Regions from separate parts of the Homo sapiens genome. Here regions 1, 2, 3, 5, 6 and 7 are each linked to region 4. Evidence: promoter capture Hi-C in 16 types of primary human blood cells and fetal thymus (Javierre and others, 2016). All regions are on one chromosome and are shown on one strand. Each heading gives the region's core, a stretch centred on a gene start or on the middle of the fragment in contact. The rest is flanking DNA. Distances are from core to core; before and after follow the strand shown.

Region 1 (3,244 bases), core at 276-2,775, 470 kb after region 4:
AGATGTGAGAATAATAATGAATAAACAAACACTTCTAACATATAAAGTAAATCTAAACCAACAATTATCTGTACAAAAACAGTAATAATCACAAGGTCTAATTTTTTTTCTAACAGATGGTGTCTCACTATGTTGCCCAGGCTGGAGTACAGAGGCTAGTCACAGGCACAATCGCAGTGCACTGCAGCCTCTAACTCCTGGCCTCAAGGGATCCTCCGGCCTCAGCCATTCAGGAGCCAGAACTACAGGTGTGCACCACTGAGTCCAGCTCAAGGTCTAATTTTAAGGTGAAAAATCACAAGCTATAACTAAAATACTGAATGATTTTAACACGAAAGTTGCAAGAGGGGTGACTTGGAGAGTTCCAAGACTCTCAATTAGAGAGGAAGATAAAGATATAACATTATACTTTTTAAGTACGGATGTAATATTCCAAGGAAATTCCCCCAAAACAAAGAAGAGGGGGCAGAGGGGTGAGGGTGGAATTAAAAAACATTTTTGATTCCAAAAGAAAAAAAAAGAGTGGAAGAAAAAAACATAAAAAGCACAAAATAAGGTGGTAAGGAATAAATGCAAATACATCAGTACACATAAAAATGCACTCAACTAACCAGTTAAAGTTCAGATTAGATTTAAAAATAATTGGCCGGGTGCAGTGGCTCATACCTGTAACCCCAGCACTTTGGGAGGCTGAGGTGGGCAGATCAGAAGGTCAGGAGTTCCAGACCAGCCTGGCCAATATGGTGAAAACCCTGTTACTAAAAAAAAGAAAAAAAAATTAGCCAGGCCTGGTGGCAAGCACCTGTAGTCCCAGCTACTCAGGAGGCTGAGGCAGTAGAATCGCTTGAACCCAGGAGGTGGAGGTTGCAGTAAGCTGAGATTGCGCCACTGCACTCCAGCCTGGGTGACAGAGTGAGACTCCGTCTCAAAATAGTAATAATAATCATCATCATCATCATCTAGCTATATGCTGTTTATGAGACACACTAAAACATAAGGACATTCATCAACAAAGCAGGATAGAAAAATCTAGCTAAACTATGCGCAATGCTATCAAAAAATAAAAACGTCAATGAAAACAAATTCCCAGAAAAATGTAATAAAAATGACTAACATTAAAGAAATAGAAAGGCTAATAATTCTATAATTTTTGAAACCTAATCAATAGTTAAGAAATTTTCTCACAAAAAAATGCAAAGTTCAGACAATTTTATAGGCAAGCTCTATCCAGCTTTTAAGGAACAGATTAATTTAAATGTTTTTCTTTTCTTCCAAGAGAACAGACAGAGGGAAGGAGAGAGAGACAGCACTCCTTAACTTATTCTTAGTATCCACAATCTATTAAGTATAAAAAGACAACAATCTACTACTATATAAATGGGCAAAAGACATGAAACAAGCTTTTCAGAGAGCAATAAGGAATGAATAATAAACATGGGAAAAGATGCTCAGCCTCATTAACATTTAGGAAATACAAAGTTAACTTCCACTCTAGTCAAAATGGAGTAGCAGAGGCACGATTTACCTTCTCCACCTTAAATTAAAACCTATATAAAATGTATACAAGGAAGTTTTTCAGATGTTAGACAAAAGCCAGTGCAGGACAGTGACTCCTGAGAGATGGAAAACAAAGAAAGCCCTATAATTGCGCAAGCTTCTACATGGGGTTTCTAAGCTGTGGCACTAAGGCTAGGGAAGGGAACCTCCCTGGGTAGAGAATTTAGGGGAGCCAAGGTAAGATTTGCAGGGCAGAATATTGGGTTTCCCTTAAGTCTTCAGCTAAACACCAAGCAGTGTATGCATGTGAGGTAAGGAACAGGAGATACAACTGGGAGCTCAATAGGGTTCAGAATATTTCATGTTCCCAACAGACAGAATGCAGAAACCGTGTAACCAGGAAGATTATTCAGAACGGTATTACCTTCGTAGTGGGTCAAATTAGCCCTAAACTAAAGGCTGTCCCAGTCCTGTCTTATTAAGCTTAAAAGCAAGCTATAAAATGATCGGATTGTTTCCAAGTAACTTTATGTCCCCAAACAGAGTTCAAGATACTTAAAAGAACTCCAGCACCCAATATTAAAAACAGAAATTACCAGGCATGTAATGAAGGAAGTTACAATCCAATATGGGCAGGGTGGGGGTTGGGGTAGGGTGGGAATCAATCAATAGAAACAGACCAGAAATGATGCAGATGACAGAATGGGCAAGCACACTGAAAGAGCTATTATCAATACACTCCAGATGTTGAAAAAAAAAAAAATAGAGGAAGGCATGAGCATGTGAAGGAGACACATGGGAGATAAAGACCCAGACAGAAATTCTAAAGACTAAAAATATGTCGGAGGTGAAAAATACCTGGATACGATTAAAAGGAAATTAGATACTTTAGACAGAAAGATTAATAAACAATGAGGACACAGCACTGGAAAGTACCCAACATGAAACACAGAGAGAAAAAGGCTTTTTAAAAAGCTGCACAGAATCAGCACACTGGGAGAAAATTCTGAGGGGCCTAACGTACATCCAAGTCATCAGAGCCCCAGGAGAAGCATGAGAGGAGCAGAGAGAAAACCATAACAGAAGAAAAAATGCCCCCCAATTTCCAAATTCTATGAAAACCATAAACCCACAGGTAAAATAGCTGCAGCAGCAGAAACGTGAAAAAAAAACTACAGCAAGCACATCATAATCAAACTTCTTACAACCAGTGACAGAAAACCTTAAAAGCAGCCAGGAAAAAAATGACATCTTACACATGGAAGAGCAGAGATAACAGTAATCTTGCTGGAAATCACAGGTAGATACCACTTAACATCCACTAGGTTGGCAAATTTTTAAGTCTGAACTTAAGTGTTGGAGATGCTATGAAACAAAGGTAACTCACAGTGCCAAGAGAGGTATAAACTAGTACAGTCACTTCAGAACACAAATTTGGCATTATTTTATCAATATATCAAGCAATATAACTGCTAGATACAATGTTCACAGCAGCATTGTTTCAACAGCAAAAACAAATAAACAAAACTCAAATGTCCATCAAGAATGAATAAGTTGTAGTATATTTATATAATACTATATAGCAATAAAAATGAAAGAAAGTCACAGAAGTAAACATTTTGCCATTTATATAAAATTCAGAAACATACAAAATTAACATTTCACTTACAGATACATACGTATGTTGTAAAACTATAATAGACAAATGACAAACACAAAATTCCAAATAATTATTTGAGAGGGAGAG
Region 2 (3,705 bases), core at 801-3,300, 490 kb after region 4:
ATTGTCAGGGTTTTAAAGGGGGACCCATAGGGTAAGCAAAAAAGACAAGATCAATCTATTTGGCAATTCCAGAGACTCCAGAAACAAAAGTGGCCAGCAATGTTTCCCATAAATGTGAAACAGTCTACTGCAAGAGTTAAAATAACTGGTAATGGTAACAAACAGCCATCATTTATCATTGAAAAATTATTTGCCATCTGCCTGCCATTAAAAGTCTCACTATGGATGAAGCAGTTACCGTATAACAGAAAGGGCACCAGATTAATGTAAGAGGTTCTTGACTGTAGTGGGAGGTCCTAGGTAAGACACCACTTCTCTGCAATTCATTATCTTTATTTACATTATCTTCATTTATAAACTGAAAATAATACCAACATTTCACAGAGTTGCTGGAATCATCAGACTATAAAGGAAAGTTCTTAGTGCTGTGAATGGCACATTATACACATTAAGTTTATAAATGTGAATCAATAACATATATAATTATCTCAAAATTAACTGAGAATAATAAACTGTATGTTTATGATGGCATATACAAAACCAAAGCTTCTCCCTCCTATGTGACATTTTATCTTAGGAAAAAACATGAAGAAATTTATTTAAAAGTCACAAGAAAGTAGTAGTATTTATTCAATGGGTGGATGGGTTGAGAAGAAGACAGGATTGAGAGGGTAAAAAACAAACCAAATGTAGGGTCTGTCTAAATCATCTGTGTATGTGACTCTAGGTAAATCACTTCTCAAGATTATGCCTCAAATTCCATATCTATAATGAGGAATTATAATATTTATTTCATACACTTCCCAAATGATACAATTAAACTAGCTCTTTGGAAGCAGAGCTCTACATAAGAGCCACCTGGCATTACTACTGGCCAGAACTACACTGCATCAGGCCAGCAGCTCACCAACACTTTGAATATACTTACTGGAATCTTTCATTCACAAAGTTGTAATTTTCATATGTGGAAAAAAATCTTAGTGCTTCAATTTAGGTTTCACAAATCACTCAAACAGCACTGTCAAAAACTAGCCATGTGTTCTAGGAGGAGGTAAGGTTTCACAGGAGAAACTAATAGTACATGGAACTCCAATCCAAGTCACCCTCTCCTTTATCACAGAGATCACAGCTTCCACTCAACATTCCTTGCCTACTTTAGTCACATTAATAATTTCTTCCTTCTCTGAACTCCCATAAGGTAACAGAATCCACCAAACAATTCAGCAATTCACAACTAAATAGTGTTTTTCTTTCTTACTAAAAACAGACAAAAAAAACAGTTCATTAAAAGCATGGGAAATAAGTGTTATAGAAAAAGAAAGTAACCCTGAAATTCCCAGTAAAATTTAGCATTACATGTGAGTAACTATCAAAGTGAAACCTGTTAAAAACACTGCATCAAAAACCAAAAACTCGTATTATTTCAACATATGAGAGACCCAACTTTTAAGACTGACATGCTACGAGCAATGTATTTGACATATATGTATGTGTATGTGGGAAATGTAATATGTACAAAGGTGGAACATACTGCTATGGACATGGAAGAGTAAAAATTTAGAAAACCCATTAACAGGGCTGGTTCATTTTATATACTGATATGAACTGATCTCTTAGATACACTGTTAATTAAAAAATGCAAGGTACAAAAACAGTATGTATAGCCTGCATCCTTTGTTTTATATTTTCCTTTTTAAAAGGAGAAAATCATATATATATATATGCACATATGTATTCAAAAAATGTAGGGGAAAGTTAGTACCAATAGGTGATAATGGTTACCCTGGAAGAGAAATTAGATAGATGAGGAGCAGGAATGAATGAGACTTTTATCTACCTTTCCATGGACCTTTTCTATTTTGCATCATATGACAACTAAAACAAACAAAAAAAATTTAAGTTGTGCACCTAAAAGACTCAAAACACCATAAAGTCAAAATAATTACTTTGGAAACATATCATGTCTGCAGTGGGTAATTATTAGTAATTTATAATATAGTCAAACATAGAAAATATAATTTTTCATCAGTTTAAAATACACGCACAGGTGCACACATGCATGTGTGTGCACACACACACACACACACACTCTACCTCAGATTCTAGATAGCAGGTTTGTAAAATTACAAATGGCAGGAGTTACATCAATTAATATTTCTCCTAATTAACAGCACTCAATAAAAGGCTCATACAAGCATGAAAAGCATAACAAAAACAAGGCCGGGCGCAGTGGCTCACGCCTGTAATCCCAGCACTTTGAGAGGCCAAGGCGGTGGATTACCTGAGGTCAGGAGTTCGAGACCAGCCTGGCCAACGTGGTGAAACCCCATCTCTACTAAAAATACAAAAATTAGCTGGGCATGGTGGCACATGCTTGTAATCCCAGCTGCTTGGGAGGCTGAGGCATGAGAATGGCTTGAACCTGGGAGACACAGGTTGCAGTGAACCAAGATCGTGCCACTGCACTCCAGCCTGGGCAACAGAGCGAGACTCCATCTCAAAAAAAAAAAAAAAGCAGAACAAAAACAAAAGATAAACCATCATACCTTTTCCTTTCCATTTAACCTTTGCAACCGACTGGCTAAAATCCACATGTATTCTTCTGTCATCTATAAGCACATTGTCCATTTTGAAGAATGCTTTCTCACAATCTTCTTCCTGATAATAATTATAAAAACTCAAGCATAAATCTTTATGGAAAAGATTTCTGTAGCTAGAATACTGAAAATACAAAAAGTTTGTTGTTACAAAAATTAATGTTTGAATACTTATTACACACCCGATGCTGTTAAATGCTTTGTATCTATTACCTCAAATACCTCTGGTAACAACCCCATGAGGTACTATCCATTTTCTTAATGAGAAAACAGAAGTTTAGAGAAGTATAGAAGTTGTTGGCAAGGGTCAGAGCCAGGATTTTAGAGAGACAGTCCAACTGCAGTGAACAGATAAATATACACTTACTGACTGTATTATACAGGTTCACAATCCTTTTTACTCAAAATTCAAAAACATCCTGGAAAGTGAAAGTTGTGTTCCTAAGTTTGTTGTTAAAATTAATTTGGCAGTAACACCAAACCTAATGGTAGGTTATGACCTTTTTTTATCCACTTAGTATGAATATTCATTTGTTTCACTGCAGAAATACTTTTGTGACAGATTATGGAATGCTGACCCAGAAAGGTATTACATAATCACAGATGTAATGTGTATGTGTGTATGCATATATACAGTATTACCTTTCTGAATTCTGAAAAATTCTGAATTAGGAAGCCTAGTTATTCTCAAGGGTTTTAGATAATGAACTGTGAGACTGTAATACCAAGCTCTGTGCTACACAAGAATCCTTCCTGTCAGTAACTTCACAATTCTAAATCCCTGTTTCTGACACTGACAGTTACATATTTCAACTCAGTACTGACCAATTTTCTTTTACATTCCTGGAAACTTATTCTTACTAGAGATAATCCAAAGAGAAGCAGATAAAATAGTTATAATCATATTTATTACATGTCAATAATTAAATGAATTATAAAATCCATGAAGATATAGACAAAGCTTGATTCGTCTTTGTAACTACATCATTTAGAACATCATATGGCATGGTATCTAAAACGTAGGCAATCAGTGTACGTTTCATGAATCTGACTGATTATTTTCAGGCAGGTATAATTCTATCACCATGCTATATCCCCAAAGAGAAAG
Region 3 (3,403 bases), core at 894-3,393, 390 kb after region 4:
TTTACAGAAAGAAGCCATCTTCATAACATAAAAGTGGCAGGTGAAGCAGTAAGTGCCAATATAGAAGCTGCATCAAGTTATCCAGAAGATCAAACTAAGATAATGTGGCTACATGAAACAGATTTTCCATGTAGATGAAACAGCCTTCGAGTGGAAGAAGGTGTCGAGATGCCCTCCAGGACTTTCATAGATAGAGAAGAGAGATCAGTGCCTGGCTTCAAAGGACAGGCTGACTCTTGTTAGGGGCTAATGCAGCTGGTGACTTGAAGTTGAAGCCAATGCACATTGACCATTCCAAAAATCCTAGGGCTCTTAAGAGTTATGCTAAATATACGCTGTCTGTGCTCTAGAAATGGAACAACAGAGCCTGGATGGCAGCACATCTGTTTATAGCTTGGTTTACTGAATATTTTAAGCTGACTGTTGAGACTTACTGCTCAGAAAAAAAAAAAAAAAAAAAAAAGATTTCTTTCAAAATATTACTGTTCATTGACAATGCACTTGGTCACCCAAGAGCTCTGAGGGAGTTGTATAAGGAGATTTCTGTTTTCATGCCTGCTAATATATCCATTTTGCAGCCTGTGGATGAAGGAATAATTTAGACTTTGAAGTCTTTATCACTTAAGAAATACATTTCATAAGGCTATAGCTGCCATTGATAGTGATTCCTCTAATGGATCTGGGTAGAGTAAACTGAAAACCTGGGAAGAATTCACCATTTTAGATGACATTAAGAACATTCATGATTCATGGGAGGAGGTCAAAATATCAACACTAATAGGAGTTTGAAAGCAGTTGATTTCAACCCTCGTGGATGACTTTGAGGGGTTCAAGACTTCAGTGGAGGAAGTCACCGCAGGTGTGGAAATAGCAAGAGAACTAGAATTAACAGTGGAGCATGAAGATGGGACTGAATTGCACTCTCATGATCAAAGTTGAACAAATAAAGAGTTGCTGTTTATGGACGAGAAAAAGTGGTATCTTGAGATGGAATCTCCTCCTGACGAAGATGCTGTGAACGCTATTGAAATGACAACAAAGGATTTAGGATATTACATAAACTTAGTTGATAAGCAGCCACAGGGTTTGAGAGGATTGACTCCACGTTACTGTGGGTAAAATGCTACCAAACAGCATCACATTCTACAGAGAAATCTTTCATGAAAGAAAGAGTCAGTCGATGCAGCCAGCTTCATTGTTGTCTTATTTTAAGAAATTGCCCCAGTCACCCCATCCTTCAGCAGCCACCACCCTGATCGGTCAGCAGCCATCACCCTGATCAATCAGCGGCCATCAAGACCCTCCACCAGCAAGAAGATTATGACTTGCTGAAGGCTCAGATGATTGTTAACATTTCTTAGCAATAAAGTATTTTTAATTAAGGAATGTACATTTTGTTTTTAGACATAATGCTATTGCACACTTAATAGGCTGCAGAATAGTGTAAACAATTTTATGTGCACTGGGAAACCAAAAAATTCATGTGACTGACTGTATTGTGATACCCACCTTATTATGGTGGTCTGGAACCAAACCTGCAATATCTCCAAGGTATGACTGTCAGGACAGGTGTGTCTTTGTGTCCCCATAGCAAATAACTTCATACATGGCAAAAGGTCAGTAGTTGATGATGATTCTTTTTTTATTTAAGATAGGGTATCACTGTTTTGCCCATCCTGGACTTCTAGGCTCAAGCTATTCTCCCACCTCAGCCTCCCAAGTAGCTGGGACTACAAACGTGCCCCACCGCACCCAGACTTGATGATAACGACTCTTAACATGAAGGCCAAGTTAATTTCTAACATTTATTCAAGTTAACCAGTGGGTACAGCCATTTTGAATGTAGTATGTATTTTCCCCTAGAACTAGTATTAGAAGCAGTAGGTTCCCAGGCCAGCCCACTAATTAGCTGGAACGCTTTGCATTTGGAAAACTGAAATAAGGCACAATCATACTATTGGGATAGATAAATGTAACAATGAAACCCAAAAATAATGTTTCTGGTATCTTCTGTGTGGTGCCAGAGGGGGATGAAGAAGTAGAGATCTTTGTGGATATTCTGGAAAATTCAGAAATTGGCATTTCAACCTGAGGCCTCTGTTACATCTAACTTTACTTCAAATTTTAAAGTTTGCTTTTTCATGGACCAAAGTGTTTGAGTGGCTTCTTCTTAGACATAATGAATGTCCTTTTTTGTTTTTCTTCAAAATTGAAGCAGAGGGACATGGGAGAATATTTTTCTGGAGAACACTGGTCAAGAGAAGAGGAAAGAAAGAAGAAAATTAAATGCAAAGTATGTAAAAATCCTGTCTTATTCTTTCCCAAGAAAGGTGAAGAGACAGGCTTCTGACTAAACGATGAGCAGCAGAGAGCAGGGACTCTCACTGGTTAAACTCCACTGGGTCTGATAGCCAACACATTGCCTGAGAGTGAGTGACATGAAACAAGCCCACATTTTATTAATCTGAATTGAAGTCTTAACTACTACCTTTTGGTTTTTAACACAAGTCTTTCACGTGCCCTTTTGCTGAACTGCCAAATTCTTTTTGTAATAAAACAGCATACACATCTTAGAACACCAATTTGCTAACCCAGACAACCAAGCTCTGCTAAGGTAATGAATGAGAAGCAATATATGCAGTTTCCATTCCAGTGAATGATAATAGGTGATTTTTGTTATGAAGTATCTCAAAGCATGATTATATTCAATATCGAATGACAAAAACACACAGCAAAGATTTTTAAACTTCCACCTGTATTGCTCTCTTTATTAACCATAATCTCTTTCTTTTCTACTGTTTATTATGTTTTGTTTTGTTTTTGTTTTGAGACAGAGTCTAGCTCAGCCACCCAGACTGGAGTGCAGTGGCGCGATCTCGGCCCACTGCAACCACTGTCTTCTGGGTTCAAGCGATTCTCCTGTCTCAGCCTCTTGAGTAGCTAGGATTACAGGCACCTGCCATCATGCCCAGCTAATTTTTGTATTTTAGTAGAGACGGGGTTTCACCATGTTGGCCAGACTGATCTTGAACACGTGACCTTAAGTGATCCGCCCACCTCGGCCTCCCAAAGTGCTGGGATTACAGGCATGAGCCACTGCGCCTGGCCTCTGTTTATTATTAATATGCTAACAGTTAACAGGTAACTACTGGCTTCACATTACAAGAAACAAGGGGCTCCCAAATTTGGAAACGAGTAAAGAATAAGTAGTACTCACTGAAAACCTTAGGCCAACTGTCATTTTGTCCTTTTGATTCCAGTTTGTGCTAAGGTAGCAATAGTAATTTCTCAGTTCTCAATCTGCACAATCATCTTTATATTTCAAAAATTTCACATTTTGAATTTGCTACTTCCTCCTTTTGCTAGTCTTCCTAATCTTAGCCACATTCTCTCATTTTCTTCA
Region 4 (3,652 bases), core at 415-2,914:
AGGAGTTCGAGACCAGCCTGGCCAACATGGTGAAACCCCATCTCTACTAAAAATACAAAAATTAGCCAGGCATGGCAACACATGCCTGTAATCCCAGCTACTCAGGAGGCTGAGGCAGGAGAATTGCCTGAACCCGGAAGGTGGAGGTTGCAGTGAGCTGAGATCGAGCCATTGCACTCTAGCCTGGGCCACAGAGCAAGACTCATCTCAAAAAAAAAAAAAAAAAAGTCTAAGCTGAAGGCATATAACTGGTTCAGCTGTAGCTACTGGGCAAATAGTTCATTAAAAATGAACACATAATGTAAACCCCTTTAACTTCTAAACACTTGTGATTTTTTTTAGTGAACATTTTTCTGAGGGGAACTGTATAACCACAGGCTGATAACATCATTCAGTTTACAGAAACATCACCAATTCACAAGAATTCAGCCTCTAGGCTTGTTTAATTTACTTTATGAAAGCTTAAATTGCAGCATAATATATGTGCGTTTGGCCTATTTCAACTATTACTCTTTGTTTTATTGGAAAACATGTTTTACTCTTGCTTACTGATTTGTTCTTGCGTTGGGATCATCTCTCCTCCAGGAGAAAGCATTTCCAATTTTATTATGAAAGATTAACAGGAAAATAGAACTTCCTTCACAGACATTGATGTTCTAGGAATAACTTTACAAAAATATTTCTCTTCTCTGAAAACTAATATTTAAATAGGTGTAATCTGAAACTACCAGAAAAATTCAACAAACACCTCCAGCAAATAAATAGCTGAGTGTCTGTGATGTCCCTTTCCTGGGGAAGGGCAGTATAAAGATGAAAATCTTGTCTAGCTGGAAGGCCGTCACTAACAGGGCTGGGGCGCATAACCCTGTGGAGACATTTGTGCCCGGCCTTAAAGGGTGCGTAGGAGTTTGCCAAGTGGACGTGGAAGGAGGCATTTTAATAAGAGGAAAATAACATGATTGGAAGCGTGGAGGTGAGAAAGCATAGAAGCACTCAGAGTGAGGAGAGCTGGGGCTTGGGCCAGCCCACGTCAGCCCCTGCCTGCGGACCCAGCCTCTTGGAGCCAGGCTCACTCACCCTGCCTTTAAGACGGCCCTACCAGAGGCAGGAGAAGGATCCGCAGCCTCAGCTTTCTGTGGCGCAACCTGGCACTGAGTCACTCATACCAATCTCAGCGCCAGTGGCCAAGCCGCTGCTGCCGGAGGGCCTGTGTCACCCTCCCCCCGTTTCCCTGCCCTCTTCCCATCCTACCACCACCCAAGCTCCCTGGCTTCCTAACAGTGTGGCAGGGATCCTCCCAGGCCCCCATCCTCCTCCAGCCTGAGTTCTTCCTCCCTGCTGTCTTCCCAGTCTTCCCCACTAAGATCCCACCACCCTTCAGACCCGGGCTCACACCAGCTCCTGCTGGCCCCATGTGCCTCGCACCGAATACAGGAGGTCGCACACTGCATCCCCAGACACCAAGTACTGCCCTGCTTGACCACCTATGTTCCCCTGGGCCCACCAGCATGGACTCTCCTTCTGTTACCAGTCACTGCCTGATCCAGGCATGAGCTGCCTGTGTCCCCCGACATCATCCTCCTGGCACCATCCTCTGCTCTTCCTGGCCTTCTTCACTGGGAGCCTTCGGGATCATCCCTCCAGATCAAGTTCTTCCAGCCCCACCTCCCTCCCACCCTGTGCACCCAGGGAAATTCATCTCTTCTGGGTCCCAACCTTGGCCTCGGGAGAGCCCCAGATGCCCCCCTCTGTGTCTACCCCAGTTACTCAGTGTGGTCAGACTTGGGGGTTGTACAGTTTTCTGTCTCATGATTCATTTCCCCAGGCAAAAAGCTGGCTAATAATATCTGGGTGTGCGGGGGAGGTACCAGTGTGTTTCTGTGTTTGGAGGTGAATTTTTTTCTACTTTAGAATTTAATCACTTCTACTTTGAGCAGTTTTTAGCTGAGCTGACAGTAATATGCTCTGCATTGAGTATTTGTAGGGGGTGGAATTAGTCACCACAAATTTCAATTTTTGGACTTTCCTGATAACGCCACAAAGCTGAAAGGCTTCTAAAGCTTGAGCAAAGATTGGAAACTTGACCCCAGGGGTTGATGGTTGATCTTTATAAAAACGACCTTGTGGTCAGTTTGTTCTTTTATGCTTAAATTGTCAAGGTCCCTGTCCACCCCAGGAATTAATGTGGTGATGTGGAAAGAGCACTAGACAAAGGATTTCAAAACTGTCTTTGGGCCCTTGGCTCGTGGCCTTAGCTCTCTGACATTCTTTGCTTATAAAATGTACCCCCTGCCGGGGCGAAGTACAATCCTTACCCATTTTGCATGACTCAACATTTTATAATGGAAGCTTCTATTTTTGTCTGGCTAAATCTTTTTCAAATAAAAATATTTCTTGGTCTGTATATTTTTCATGTCTCAGACATTTTTATCAATACATAATGTCCTAGCTTTTCACATCTTGCAAATGGCACAGAATTGTGAAAGAATACAGCAAAAAGCTAGAAATATACCTGTGTATATAACATTGCTGGGGATTTTTATGTGTGGTTTCTTGTGGGTTCTAGTAAGCACGTTCATTTCATTACCTACAAACGCATAGAAAAATCCAACATAATCCCACACTGATGAGAAGAAGAGAGGGTTGTTTGTCAGGTGGGGTAGTTTCACTTGACTTGAAGGTCTCACCCCGCCCCTCGTCTTTACCATAGCATACGCTTCTAGATGCTTCTGCTGCATTGTCAACCAGACTCTACCAGAACTGTTTTTCAAAACATGTGTTCCTAGGATTTTACCTCCCTGCATTTTTTGCTATATCTATTAAGTAATGCATGTATATAATTAAAAATCAAATAGTCCTATAAGATGTATAATGAAAACCAGCAGTTTCCTATTCCAACCCTCCCAAAGATGAAGTCTGATGTTGCAGAGCCAATCACTTTCAGCGCAGCTAGATGTTTCTTCGGATAATCACCGCGCTATCTGTAACTAGTATGCACAGGCTGCTGTTTCTTGATTTACTGGGGTCATGATCTCATTCTCTTATTCCATTACCTTTACTTCTACTTCCTTGCTCCTCTCCATCTTCCTAAGATGGTCATACCCACATTTGAGATGCATGGTCCTGCTGACGTTGCTGTGACTATATACATTTTGTTGGCTGCTGATCAGAGTAGTACATCATGATTTTGTTTCATTTCTTGCACAACTTAATTGTTTTTCCTGGAATTATTTATTGCCTTCATTTATTTGCCTAGATTTATTTGTACCTATCAAAAATTTCGTATGTGCCAAAATTTTCGTATGTGCCATTAGATCTGCCGCATTCAGTATTACTTTTGGTATTATTTAAATATTAATTACCAGATAAGTATGTCAGTTCCATCCCAACCTGCCCTCCCTTCCCGCAGAGGCCCTCTCCTCTTTCCACCCAGAGCTCTTTAAGCTCCATCGCAGCCTGCCCTCCCTTCCCCCAGAGGCCCTCTCCTCTTTCCACCCAGAGCTCTTTAAGCTCTATCCCAGCCTGCCCTCCCTTCCCCCAGAGGCCCTCTCCTCTTTCCACCAAGAAAGCTCCTGCTCCTAGTATATCTGGGTTCATTACTCTAAACACAGCTTTACTGCAGCTTCCCTTTACTATGTTTCTCAGTTGGGTC
Region 5 (3,299 bases), core at 618-3,117, 440 kb before region 4:
ACGCACAACTGGATTGCATTTCCCAGCCTCTCTCACGGGTAGGTGTGGTCACATGACTGAGTTCTAGCCAATGGAATGTGAGAGGAAGCCAGAGCTGACGCATAGAACCTCTCACGTTATTTTCCCTTCCATGGTGACATGGGAAGCATCCATTGAAGAAGGTGGAGCCATGGGTGGGAAAGGAGCCTGATCCCTCAGTTATAGTCAGCCCTCCAAATCTGTGGGCTCCACATCCTTGGATCCAACCAATGCTGACTTGAAAATATTTGAAACAACAACAACAAAAATAACAATATAACAACAAAAAATAATACAAATAGGAAACAATATACAGTAACAACTATTTACACAACATTTACATTATATTAGGTATTTAAATTTTTTTTAGAGTTGGGGTCTCACTATGTTGCCCAGGCTGGAGTGCAGTAGCACAATCATAGCTTACTGCCATCTCAAACTCTGGGGCTCAGGCCATCTTCCCACCTCAGCCTCCCAATGTGTTAGGATTACAGGTGTGAGCCATTGCACCTGGCCTGTGTTAAGTATTATAAGTAATCTAGAGATGATTTAAAGTATACAGAAGGATGTGCACAGGTTATATGCAAATACTATGCCATTTTGTATCAGGGACTTGAGCATCCAGGGATTTTGGTATCTGCAGAGTTGTGGAACCAATCCCCCAGGGAGGCTGAGGGATGATTAAACTTTTTGTGTGTGTGTGTGTGTGAAGTATTTGACAGGTTTACATCACTGCTCACCACTAGGGAACAAATTAATCATTTTTTCTGTGCCTCAGTCTTTTCCTTATCTGAAAATATTGATAGCAACTACCTCCTGGGGCTATTGGAAGTACTAAATGAGTCAATATTTTCACACTTAGAATAGGGCTCTGCTTAGAGTAAGCACTACATAAGGATATATTAAATAGTGAAAGCTCTATAAGTGTCAGTATTATATTAGCCTTTATGGCTGTTAAGGACTGAATATTTGTGTATCCTCAAAATTCTTATGTTGAAATCTTAATCCTCAATGTGACAATACTTGGAGATAGCAACTATGAGAAGGTAATAAAATTAACTGAGGTCACACATATGGGTCCCTAATCTGATAGGTCTGGTACCTTTTTTTAAATTTTTTTTTTGAGATGGAGTCTCGCTCTGTTGCCCAGGCTGGAGTGCAATGGTGCGATCTCAGCTCACTGCAACCTCTGCCTCCCAGGCTCAAGTGATTCTCCTGCCTCAGACTCCCGAGTAGCTGGGACTACAGGCACGTGCCACCACACCCGGCTAATTTTTTATATTTTTTGTAGAGACAGGGTTTCACCATGTTAGCCAGGATGGTCTCCATCTCCTGACCTCTTGATCCTCCCGCATTGGCCTCCCAAAGTGCTGGGATTACAGGCGTGAGCCACCACGCCTGGCCTGGTGCTCTTTTAAGAAGAGGAAAATATATCAGCATTCTCTCTCTGCACACGTGTGCACCAAGGAAGGTCATGAAAGGACACTGTGAGAAGGTGCCATCTGCAATCCAGGAGGGGAGTCCTCACCAGACACGAAATCTGCCAGCACCTTGATCTTGGACTTCTTAGCCTCTACAACTGTGAGAAAATAAATTTCTGTTGTTTAAGACATGCAGTCTGTGATACTTTGTTCTGGCAGCCCAAGCAGATGAACACAATGGCTATTCTAAACATTTTAAGACATTTCCTTGAATGGTAATGAGAATAACCTTGGTTGATAGGTTTTCTTTTTTCAGGATGGCATAAAAGTTAGGAGTTGAGGTTGAGGTGTCAGATGAGTTGGCCTGGGTTCAAATCTTGGCTTTGCAGTACTGTGAGACATGAAAAATTTACTTAACTCCACTAAGTCTTAATTTTCTCATTAATAGGACTATAATATCTACTTCATAGGGCTATTGGAGGATTAATGAGATAATGTTTGTAAAAAAAAATTCAGTGGAGTGCCTGGCACATAGTTAGTCCTAATTAATCTCAGAATCTGTTTTTTTTGGTTGTTATTGTTGTTGTTGTTTACTTTTTGGCGCCAAAACTCTTCCTTGAAGCAAAATCTTAGATAAATAGCCAATCCAGCATAGATGGAAGCAGAGGGTAGGGCTTGGAAGGGAGGAGACCCTCTGTCCACCCACGGGCTTCTCCTCACATCCAGTGACATTCTCCAGAGTGTCCCTGAGTCACCTCTGTGGAATCCTAGCACTGCTCAGCACAGTTTGATCATTTATAGGACTTGAAGTTCCCTAAACGATTATTTTGTTCCAGTTTTAACATTGTTATGACTACGAGAAGTGGCATGTGGCCGTGAAATGGAAGTGGAAGTTGAAATTATACTCACACGACCTTTTCCCTATGTTTGGGCCTCTTCTGACTTAGCAAATGACTTCCACCACTGCCTCTCACGCTCACGGGTTAAGCCCCCTCTCTACAGGAGTCGCCGCCCTTTCTCCCGTCTGCTTCTGCTGCATGGAGAGGGGTGGCAGGACGCTGACATGATGCTGACATGATGCTGTTGCCCTGCTGCCTGGGGCCCCATTGAGGGGTCCAGGCTCCAGATGAGGAGTGAGAGCTCATGAGATTTCATTTGTAGAGCCGGATGGCTAAGTTTCTGACAGATAAGGCCCTCAGCCAGTTACAAGGCATGGTTGTGAAACTAAATTATCTAGGGAAAAAAATGAGCCGTTCTGACACCCCCGTGCCTTCATCCAGTCAAAAGTTAAATTATCGCCCAAATTTTCCCTCTGTACCTCTACTTAGCGGTACAAGTGTAAGCCATACATAAAACTCCAGTTAACTCTGACTGGGCAGGAGTGGCTCCATTTCCCTTGCATTCAGAGGAGGCCACGTGGCTGCTGAAACCCTTAGGGGACTTTCACTCCCACTGGGATGAAATTTTAAGTCTTAACCATGGTCTCTGACCTCATATCCTCTCCGTCTCCTCCTGACCCTTGCTGCTCCAGTCACTCTTGTCTGGGGTTCCTCGAGCATGTGAAGTATTTTCCACTGTCTGAGCCTTTGCACATCTGTTCCTGTGACCTTCCTCCCAGAGAGCCACGGAGCTCCATTCTTCATCAACTTCCTCCTCAAAAAGGCCTTCCTTGCTTGCCGTGTCTAAAACAGCATCACCGATCCCTCTCTAAAATTGTGCCCTGCCAACATACAGTTACGTAGGAGGAATAAATTCAATGTTTGATAGCAGAATAGGGTGACTATAGTTAAACAAAAATGTATTGCACCCAGGAGATGGACACCCTAATTTGATCACTATACATTATATACATGTAACAAA
Region 6 (3,808 bases), core at 440-2,939, 410 kb after region 4:
GTGCTGTTATCACATCATGCCCAGCACTACCATGCCCAGCTATTTTTTGCATTTTTAGTAGAGACGGGGTTTCACCATGTTGCCCAGGCTGGTCTTGAACTCCTGGCCTCTACAAGGCCTCTACAAGTGATCCACCCACCTCGGCCTCCCAAAGTGCTGGGATTACAGGTGTGAGCCACCGCTGAGCTACCACTTCCGGCCAGACACCACATTTTTTTATCCACTCATCAGTTGATGGGCACTCAGGTTGACTCCATATGTCTGCAATTGTAAATTGTGCTGCAATAAACATACGCGTGCAGATGTCTTCTTTTTATTAGTATTTAATGACTGAATTTCCTTTCGGTAGATACGCAGGAGTGGAATTGCTGGATTGAATGGTAGATCTTCTTTTAGTTATTTGAGAAATCTCTATACTGCTTTCCTTAGAGGTTGTGTTAATTTACATTCCCACCAGCAGGATGTGGGCATTCTTTTTCTACCACATTAGTGCCAACATCTATCGTTTTTTGACTTTTTGGTAATGGCTATTCTGGCTGGGGTAAAGTGGTATTACATTGTGGTTTTAATTTGCATTTCCCTGATGATTAGTGACATTGAACATTTTTTCATACATTTGTTGGTCATTTGCAGATCTTTTTTGAGAAATGTCTGTTCATGCCATTTGCCTACTTTTGTAATGTGATTATTTGGGTTGTTTTCTTGCGGATTTATTTTAGTTCCTTGTAGATTCTGGATATTAGTGCTTTATCAGAGGCATAGTTTGCAAATATTTTCTCCCATTCTGTAGGTTGTCTGTTTACTCTGTTGATAATTTCTTTTGTTGTGCAGCTTTTTAGTTTAATTAGGTCCCATTTATTTTTGTTGTTGTTGTTGCTGCATTTGCTTTTGGGGTCTTAGTCATAAATTCTTTGCCTAGGCCTGTCCAGAAGACTTTTTCCTAGGTTTTCTTCTAGAATTTTTATGGTTGCAGGTCTTAGATTTAAGTATTGTATCTATCTTGAGTTGATTTCTGTATACAGTGAGAGATGGGGATCCAGTTTCATTCTTCTAAAGGCAGCAATCCAATTTTCCCAGCAGCATTTACTGAATAGAATATCCTTTCCCCAGTTTGTGTTTTTGTGTGCTTTTTGAAGATTAGTTGGATGTAAGTATTTGGCTTTATTTCTGGGTTCTCTATTCTGTTGCATTGGTCTATGTGTCTATTTCTGTATCAGTACCATGCTGTTTTAGCAACTATAGTCTTGTAATATATAATTTGAACTTGGGTAGTGATTTGTTCTTTTTGCTTAGGATTGCTCTTTTGTTCCAGATTTGTTCTTTTTGCTTAGGATTGCTTTGGCTATATGGGCTCTTTTTGGTTCCGTGTGAATTTTAGGTTGAGGGCTTTTCTAATTCTGTGGAAAATGACCTTGGTATTTTGATAGGAATTGCACTGAATCTAGAGATTGCTTTGGGCAGTATGATCATTTTCACAATATTGATTCTTCTAACCCATGAGCATGGGACGTTTTTCCATTTGGTTATGTCATCTATGATTTCTTTCATCTACTTTCTTTCATAGGTCTCTTTGTAGAGAACTTTCATCTCCTTGGTTAAGTATATTCCTAGGTTTTGTTTTGTTTTGTTTTTGTTTTTGTTTTTGTTTTTGTTTTGTTTTTTTGAGACATAGTTTTGCTCTTCTTGCCCCAGGCTGGAGTGCAATGGCACAACCTTGGCTCACTGCAACCTCTGCCTCCCTGGTTCAAGGGATTCTCCTGCCTCAGCCTCTGCAGTAGCTGGGATTACAGGTATGTGCCACCATGCCCAGCTAATTTTGTGTTTTTAGTAGAATGTGGTTTCTCCATGTTGTTCATGCTGGTCTCGAACTCCTGACCTCAGGTGATCCACCTGCCTCAGCCTCCCAAAGTGCTGGGATTACAAGCATGAGCCACCGTGCCCGGCCTTTTTGGTAGCTATTATAAAACGAGTGGAGTTCTTGATTTGACTCTCAACTTGTTCATTGCTGGTGTATAGCAGTGCCACTCATTTGTGTGCATTGGTTTTATAACCTGAGACTCTACTGAATTCGTTTATCAAATCTAGGTGTCTTTTGGATGAGTCTTTGGGGTTTTCTAGGTATAAGGTCATATCATGGCAAACAGAGATAGTTTGACTTCCTCTTTTACAATCTGGAGGCCCTTTATTTCTTTCTCTTGCCAGATTTCTCTGGCTAGGACTTTCAGTACTGTGTTGAATAGAAGTAGTGAACGTGGGCATCCAGGTCTTGTTCCAGTTCTTTGGGGGAATGTTTTCAACTTTTCCCCATTCAGAATGATGTTGGCTGTGGGTTTGTTGTATGTGGCATTTATTATTTTGAGCTATGTTCCTTCTGTGCCCAGTTTGTTGAGGGTTTTTATCATAAAGTGATGCTGAATTTTATGGAATACTTTTTCTGCATCTGTTGAGATAATCATCATATGGTTTTGTTTTTCATTCTGTTTATGTGGTGAATCACACTTATTGACTTGCATATGTTGAACTATCCCAGGGCCCTGGGATGGAACCCACTTGATCATGGTAAATTATCTTTTTGATGTGCTGTTGGATTCACTTTTCTAGAACTTTGTTGAGGATTCTTGTATCTGTGTTCATCAAAGATAGTGTCTGTAGTTTTGTTTGTTTGTTTGTTATGTTCTTTCCTGGCTTTGTTATCAGGGTGATATTGGCTTCATCGAATGAGTTAGGGAGGGTTTCCTCCTTGATCTTTTGGAATTGTTTCTGTAGGATTGGTAGCAATTCTTCTTGGAATGTCTAGTAGGATTCGGCTGTGATTTCACTGGGTCCTGGGCTTTTTAATGTTGGGAGATTTTTTATTACTCATTCAATGTCACTGCTTTTTACTGGTCTGTTCAAGATTTCTATCTCTTCCTGATTCAAGCTGGGTGGGGGTGGGATTTGGGGTTAATTATATCTTGTTTTGCTGAGGTCAGTGGGAAGAGGCAGCTCAGAAGCTGAAAAGCAGCCTGGAATCCCAGTCCACCAACCCCTTGCTTTTCCCCCATCTAGCCCAGCCTCAGTTCATTCTGCCAGCAAAAGAAAGAGACCAAAGCACTACTGGCAGACCTTCACAGGTTTGTGTGTAGGTCTGAGGCCTGCGCCAGCTAAGCACATATTTTGAACATCCCCCTTTTCAACAATGAAAAATTATTTCTCATGTCGTTTCTGCTCATTAACAAGATTCTAGCATCTATTTCTGTAACAATTATTAGGCTCCTAAGGTCCCTCCTCTGGAGAGAGAAACCCCTATTAGGGGCCTTCAAATGCTAACCAACCAATCTTTCATGCAGATTAGAGATTTTTTTTTTTTTTTTTTTGAGACGGAGTTTTGCTCCTGTTGCCCAGGGGGAAGTGCAACGGCACAATCTTGGCTCACTGCAACCTCCGCCTCCCAGATTCAACAGATTCTCCTGCCTCAGCCTCCCAAGTAGCTGGGATTACAGGCATGTGCCACCACACCCGGCTAATTTTGCATTTTTAGTAGAGACAGGGTTTCTCCATGTTGGTCAGGCTGGTCTCGAACTCCTGACCTCAGGTGATCTGTCCGCCTCTACCTCCCAAAGTGTTGAGATTACCGACGTGAGCCACCACACCCAGCCCCTAGAGTTATTTATAAATGCATTCATACTACTCTTTACACCGAATTCTTTTTAGCCTAAGTAACCATAAAGATAATACAAAACCGACCTTTGGCAAGTTGCTTCCAGCACCTCAGTTTTCTCTTCTATGAGATGGAATTAATGGCGCACATCCCAAAGGCTGTTGTGAG
Region 7 (3,651 bases), core at 459-2,958, 500 kb after region 4:
GCATATGGATATTACTAACCTAGATATACTTTCACAATGAGTGTTACTGTTTTGCATTGAGTGATACCATATTTATCACCCTGCATTACTTTAAGATGTAAACTAATATAACTGTCTAAATCTTAGTACTTTTGCCCTACTTCTCAATTAAAAAACTAAATTAAAGCATTAACAATTCCTCCAGCTGGGTGCAGTGGCTCATTCCTGTAATCCCAACACTTCAGGAGGCTGAGGTGGGTGGATCATGAGGTCAGGAGATCGTGACCATCCTGGCTAACATGGTGAAACCCCGTCTCTACTAAAAATACAAAAAATTAGCCAGGTGTGGTGGCGGGCGCCTGTAGTCCTAGCTACTTGGGAGGCTAAGGCAGGAGAATGGTGTGAACCCGGGAGACAGAGCTTGCAGTGAGCCAAGATCGCGCCACTGCACTCCAGCCTGGGCAACAGCATGAGACTCCGTCTCAAAAAATAAATAAATAAATAATTCCTCCAAACATAATTATAAATAATTAGTACAAGTATAAAAATACAAAAAGTCCTTTTTATTATAAAGATTCTTACAGTCTTATATTAATTCACCTTTTGGGATTAGAATTATCCAGAAACCAGTCCTATGCATACCGTTCCTATCCATACCACTACGTGTTAAACATCTCAATATTAAAACATTCTAGTACATTCAGATAGCAAATTGTAACCATACCTGATATCCTGATATGGTACAAAGTCCTTGTCAACAAAGGTCTCATTAATTTTCTTAATTATGTCCATGCCTTCTGTCACCTCACCAAACACCGTATGGACACCATCAAGATAATCTAGATTTTCTCCTGTGGTGATAAGAAACTATAAAGAAGGACACATAATAAATACCATAAAAATAATACATAACTCAAACTGAAATCAGTTACAGACTGACAAAAAAATACATGAAAGTTAAGAGTCCACATTTACTGCACCAATTCTTAGACACTTGTTACCAAAACTAAGTAAAAAGTACAAAGCTTATACTGGCATACCTCATTTTATTGCACTTTGCAGATACTGCATTTTTTACAATTAAGGATTTCTGGCAACCGTGTATTGAGTAAGTCTATTGGTGCCATTTTCCCAACAGCATAGGCTCACTTCATGTTTCTGGCTCACATTTTGGTGATTCTCACAAGATTTCAAACTTTTTCATTACTATTGTATCTGTTATTACCATCTATAATCTTTGATCTTACTACCGCAATTGTTTTGGGGCACCACAAACTGTGCCCATATAAGATGGTGAACTTAATCCATAAATGTTGTATGTGTTCTGACTACTCCACCAACCAGCCATTCCCATCTTTCTCCCTCTCAGTGCTCCCTATTCCCCGAGACACAATACTGAAATGAGGCCAATTAACCCTACAAGAGACTCTTAAGTGTTCAAGTAAAAGGAAGAATGGCACATCTCTTACTTTAAATCAAAAGCTAAAAATGATTAAGCATAGTGAGAAAGGCACGTTGAAAGCCAAGATAAGCGGAAAGCTAGGCCTCTAGTACCAAACAATAGCTGAGTTGTAAATGCAAAGGAAAAGTTCTTAAAGAAAATTAGAAGTGCTATTCCAGTGAACACATGAATGATAAAATGAAACAGGCTTACTGCTGATATGAAGAAGGTTTTAGTAATCTACATAGGTCAAACCAGCCACAACGATCCCTTAAGCCAAAGCCTAATTCCAAACAAGCCCTAACTTTATTCAATTCTATAAAGGCTGAGAGAGGGAAGGTAGCTGCAAAAGAAAGTCTGAAGCTAGCAGAGGTTAATTCATGAAGTTTAAGGAAAGAGGCCAGGCGCAGTGAATTACTCCATCTCAAAAAAAAAAAAAAAAGAAAAGAAAAATTTAAGGAAAGAAGCTGTCTCCATAATTTAAAAGTGCAAGGTGAAGCAGCAAGTGCTGACACAGAAGCTACAGCAAGTGGCCAGGTGCAGTGGCTCACGCCTATGTAATCCCAGCACTTTAGGAGGCCGAGGCAGGCAGATCACAAGCTCAGGAGTTCAAGACCAGCCTGACCAACATGGTGAAACCCTGTCTCCACTAAAAATACAAAAGTTAGCCAGGCATGGTGGCGTGTGCCTGTAATCCCAGCTACTCAGGAGGCTGAGGCAGGAGAATTGCTTGAACCCAGGAGGCGAAGGTTGCAGTGAGCTGAGATCATGCCACTGCACTCCAGCCTGGGCAACAGAGTGAGAATCTGTCTCAAAAAAAAAAAAAAAAGAAGCTGCAGCATGCATCAAGTTATCTGGAAGATCTAGCTAAGATCACTGATGAAGATGACTTCATGAAATAACAAATTTTCCATGAAGACGAAACAGCCTTATATTGGAAGATGCCACTTAGGACTTTCACAGCTAGAGAGGAAAAGTCAATGCCTAGCTTCAAAGCTTCAAAGACAAGCTGACTCTTCTGTTACATGCTAATCCAGCTGGTGACTTTAAGTTGAAACCAATGCTCACTGACTATACCAAAAATCCCAAGGCCGTTAAGAATGATGCTAAATCGGCCGGGCGCGGTGGCTCACGCCTGTAATCCCAGCACTTTGGGAGGCCGAGGCGGGTGGATCACGAGGTCAGGAGATCAAGACCATCCTGGCTAACACGGTGAAACCCCGTCTCTACTAAAAATACAAAAAATTAGCCGGGCGTGGTGGCAGGCGCCTGTAGTCCCAGCTACTTGGGAGGCTGAGGCAGGAGAATGGCGTGAATCTGGAGGTGGAGCTTGCAGTGAGCAGAGATTGCGCCACTGCACTCCAGCCTGGGCGACAGAGCAAGACTCCATCTCAAAAAAAAAAAAAGAATGATGCTAAATCTATTCTGCCTGTGCTCTAGAAATGGAACAACAAAGCTTGGATGACAGCACATCTGTTTACAGCAGGGTTTATCAAATATTTTAAGATCACTGTTGAGACCTGCCGCTCAGAACAAAGATCCTTTTAAATATGACTGCTCTTTTAATAAGAAATCCTTTTAAAATATTACTGCTCATTGACAATACTCCAGGTCACCCAGGAGCTCTGATGGATATGATGTACAAGGAAATTAATATTGTTTTCAGCTGTGCACAGTGACTGACACCTGTAAACCCAGCACTTTGGGAGGCTGAGGCAGGTGGATCACTTGAGGCCAGTTCAAGACCAGCCTGGCCAACACAGTCAACATGGTGAAACCCCATTTCTACTATAAATACAAAAAATCAGCCGGGCGTAGTGGTGCACACCTGTAATCCCAGCTACTCAGAAGGCTGAGGCAAGAGAACTGTTTGAACCCAGGAGGCAGAGGTTGCAGTGAGGTGAGACTGCACCACTGTACTCAACCTGGGTGACAGAGTGAGAATCTGTCTCAAAAAAAAAAAAATACTGTTTTCATGCCTGCTAACATAACAGTCATTCTGCAGCCATGGATCGAAGAGTAATTTCAACTTTCAAGTATTACTATTTAAGAAATACAGCCTGACATGTGGCATGCACCTGTAGTCCCAGCTACTCAGGAGGCTGAGGTAGAAGGATCACTTGAGCAACGTAGTGAGGCCCCATCTCTAAAAATAAAAATTAAAAAAAAATACATTTTGTGAGGCTATAGCTGCCATAGATGGTGATTCCTCTGATGGATATGGGCAAGTA

Evidence for each region. The method cuts DNA at HindIII sites, captures the fragments that hold promoters and counts their contacts. A CHiCAGO score of 5 or more calls a contact.
Region 1: a fragment that was not itself captured here is called in contact with the fragment with the promoter of UST-AS2 in region 4 in 17 of 17 cell types (megakaryocytes, endothelial precursors, erythroblasts and 14 more); the score reaches 23.9 in megakaryocytes.
Region 2: a fragment that was not itself captured here is called in contact with the fragment with the promoter of UST-AS2 in region 4 in 17 of 17 cell types (activated CD4 T cells, megakaryocytes, total CD4 T cells and 14 more); the score reaches 59.5 in activated CD4 T cells.
Region 3: a contact is called between a fragment that was not itself captured here and the fragment with the promoter of UST-AS2 in region 4, in 17 of 17 cell types (naive CD8 T cells, activated CD4 T cells, naive CD4 T cells and 14 more). The highest score is 44.2, in naive CD8 T cells.
Region 5: a fragment that was not itself captured here is called in contact with the fragment with the promoter of UST-AS2 in region 4 in 2 of 17 cell types (naive B cells and M1 macrophages); the score reaches 5.7 in naive B cells.
Region 6: a contact is called between a fragment that was not itself captured here and the fragment with the promoter of UST-AS2 in region 4, in 17 of 17 cell types (naive CD4 T cells, total CD8 T cells, M0 macrophages and 14 more). The highest score is 59.1, in naive CD4 T cells.
Region 7: a contact is called between a fragment that was not itself captured here and the fragment with the promoter of UST-AS2 in region 4, in 16 of 17 cell types (naive CD4 T cells, activated CD4 T cells, total CD4 T cells and 13 more). The highest score is 19.6, in naive CD4 T cells.

What each region holds. Positions count from the first base shown.
Region 1 is chr6:149,501,816-149,505,059 of GRCh38, forward strand. PPIL4 (peptidylprolyl isomerase like 4) reads right to left here. Exons shown (of 13, transcript NM_139126.4): 13 at 2,680-3,244. Among named protein-coding and RNA genes, the nearest start is that of ZC3H12D, 18 kb to the left of the region's middle. The HindIII fragment of the contact is 254 bases long and covers 1,399-1,652 here.
Region 2 is chr6:149,518,514-149,522,218 of GRCh38, forward strand. It overlaps PPIL4 (peptidylprolyl isomerase like 4), which reads right to left. Exons shown (of 13, transcript NM_139126.4): 10 at 2,547-2,658. Among named protein-coding and RNA genes, the nearest start is that of PPIL4, 26 kb to the right of the region's middle. The HindIII fragment of the contact is 3,012 bases long and covers 545-3,556 here.
Region 3 is chr6:149,416,211-149,419,613 of GRCh38, forward strand. No RefSeq gene overlaps it. Among named protein-coding and RNA genes, the nearest start is that of SUMO4, 18 kb to the left of the region's middle. The HindIII fragment of the contact is 4,936 bases long and covers 1-3,403 here.
Region 4 is chr6:149,030,997-149,034,648 of GRCh38, forward strand. UST-AS2 (UST antisense RNA 2) reads right to left here and starts at 1,665. Exons shown (of 2, transcript NR_134599.1): 1 at 1,529-1,665. The region is part of intron 7 of UST (uronyl 2-sulfotransferase); the gene reads left to right. RefSeq lists an enhancer at 2,069-2,258. The HindIII fragment of the contact is 1,599 bases long and covers 460-2,058 here.
Region 5 is chr6:148,591,014-148,594,312 of GRCh38, forward strand. No RefSeq gene overlaps it. Among named protein-coding and RNA genes, the nearest start is that of UST, 150 kb to the right of the region's middle. The HindIII fragment of the contact is 5,455 bases long and covers 1-3,299 here.
Region 6 is chr6:149,436,908-149,440,715 of GRCh38, forward strand. No RefSeq gene overlaps it. Among named protein-coding and RNA genes, the nearest start is that of SUMO4, 39 kb to the left of the region's middle. RefSeq lists an enhancer at 3,733-3,808. The HindIII fragment of the contact is 9,116 bases long and covers 1-3,808 here.
Region 7 is chr6:149,534,893-149,538,543 of GRCh38, forward strand. It overlaps PPIL4 (peptidylprolyl isomerase like 4), which reads right to left. Exons shown (of 13, transcript NM_139126.4): 5 at 704-846. Among named protein-coding and RNA genes, the nearest start is that of PPIL4, 9.3 kb to the right of the region's middle. The HindIII fragment of the contact is 1,412 bases long and covers 1,003-2,414 here.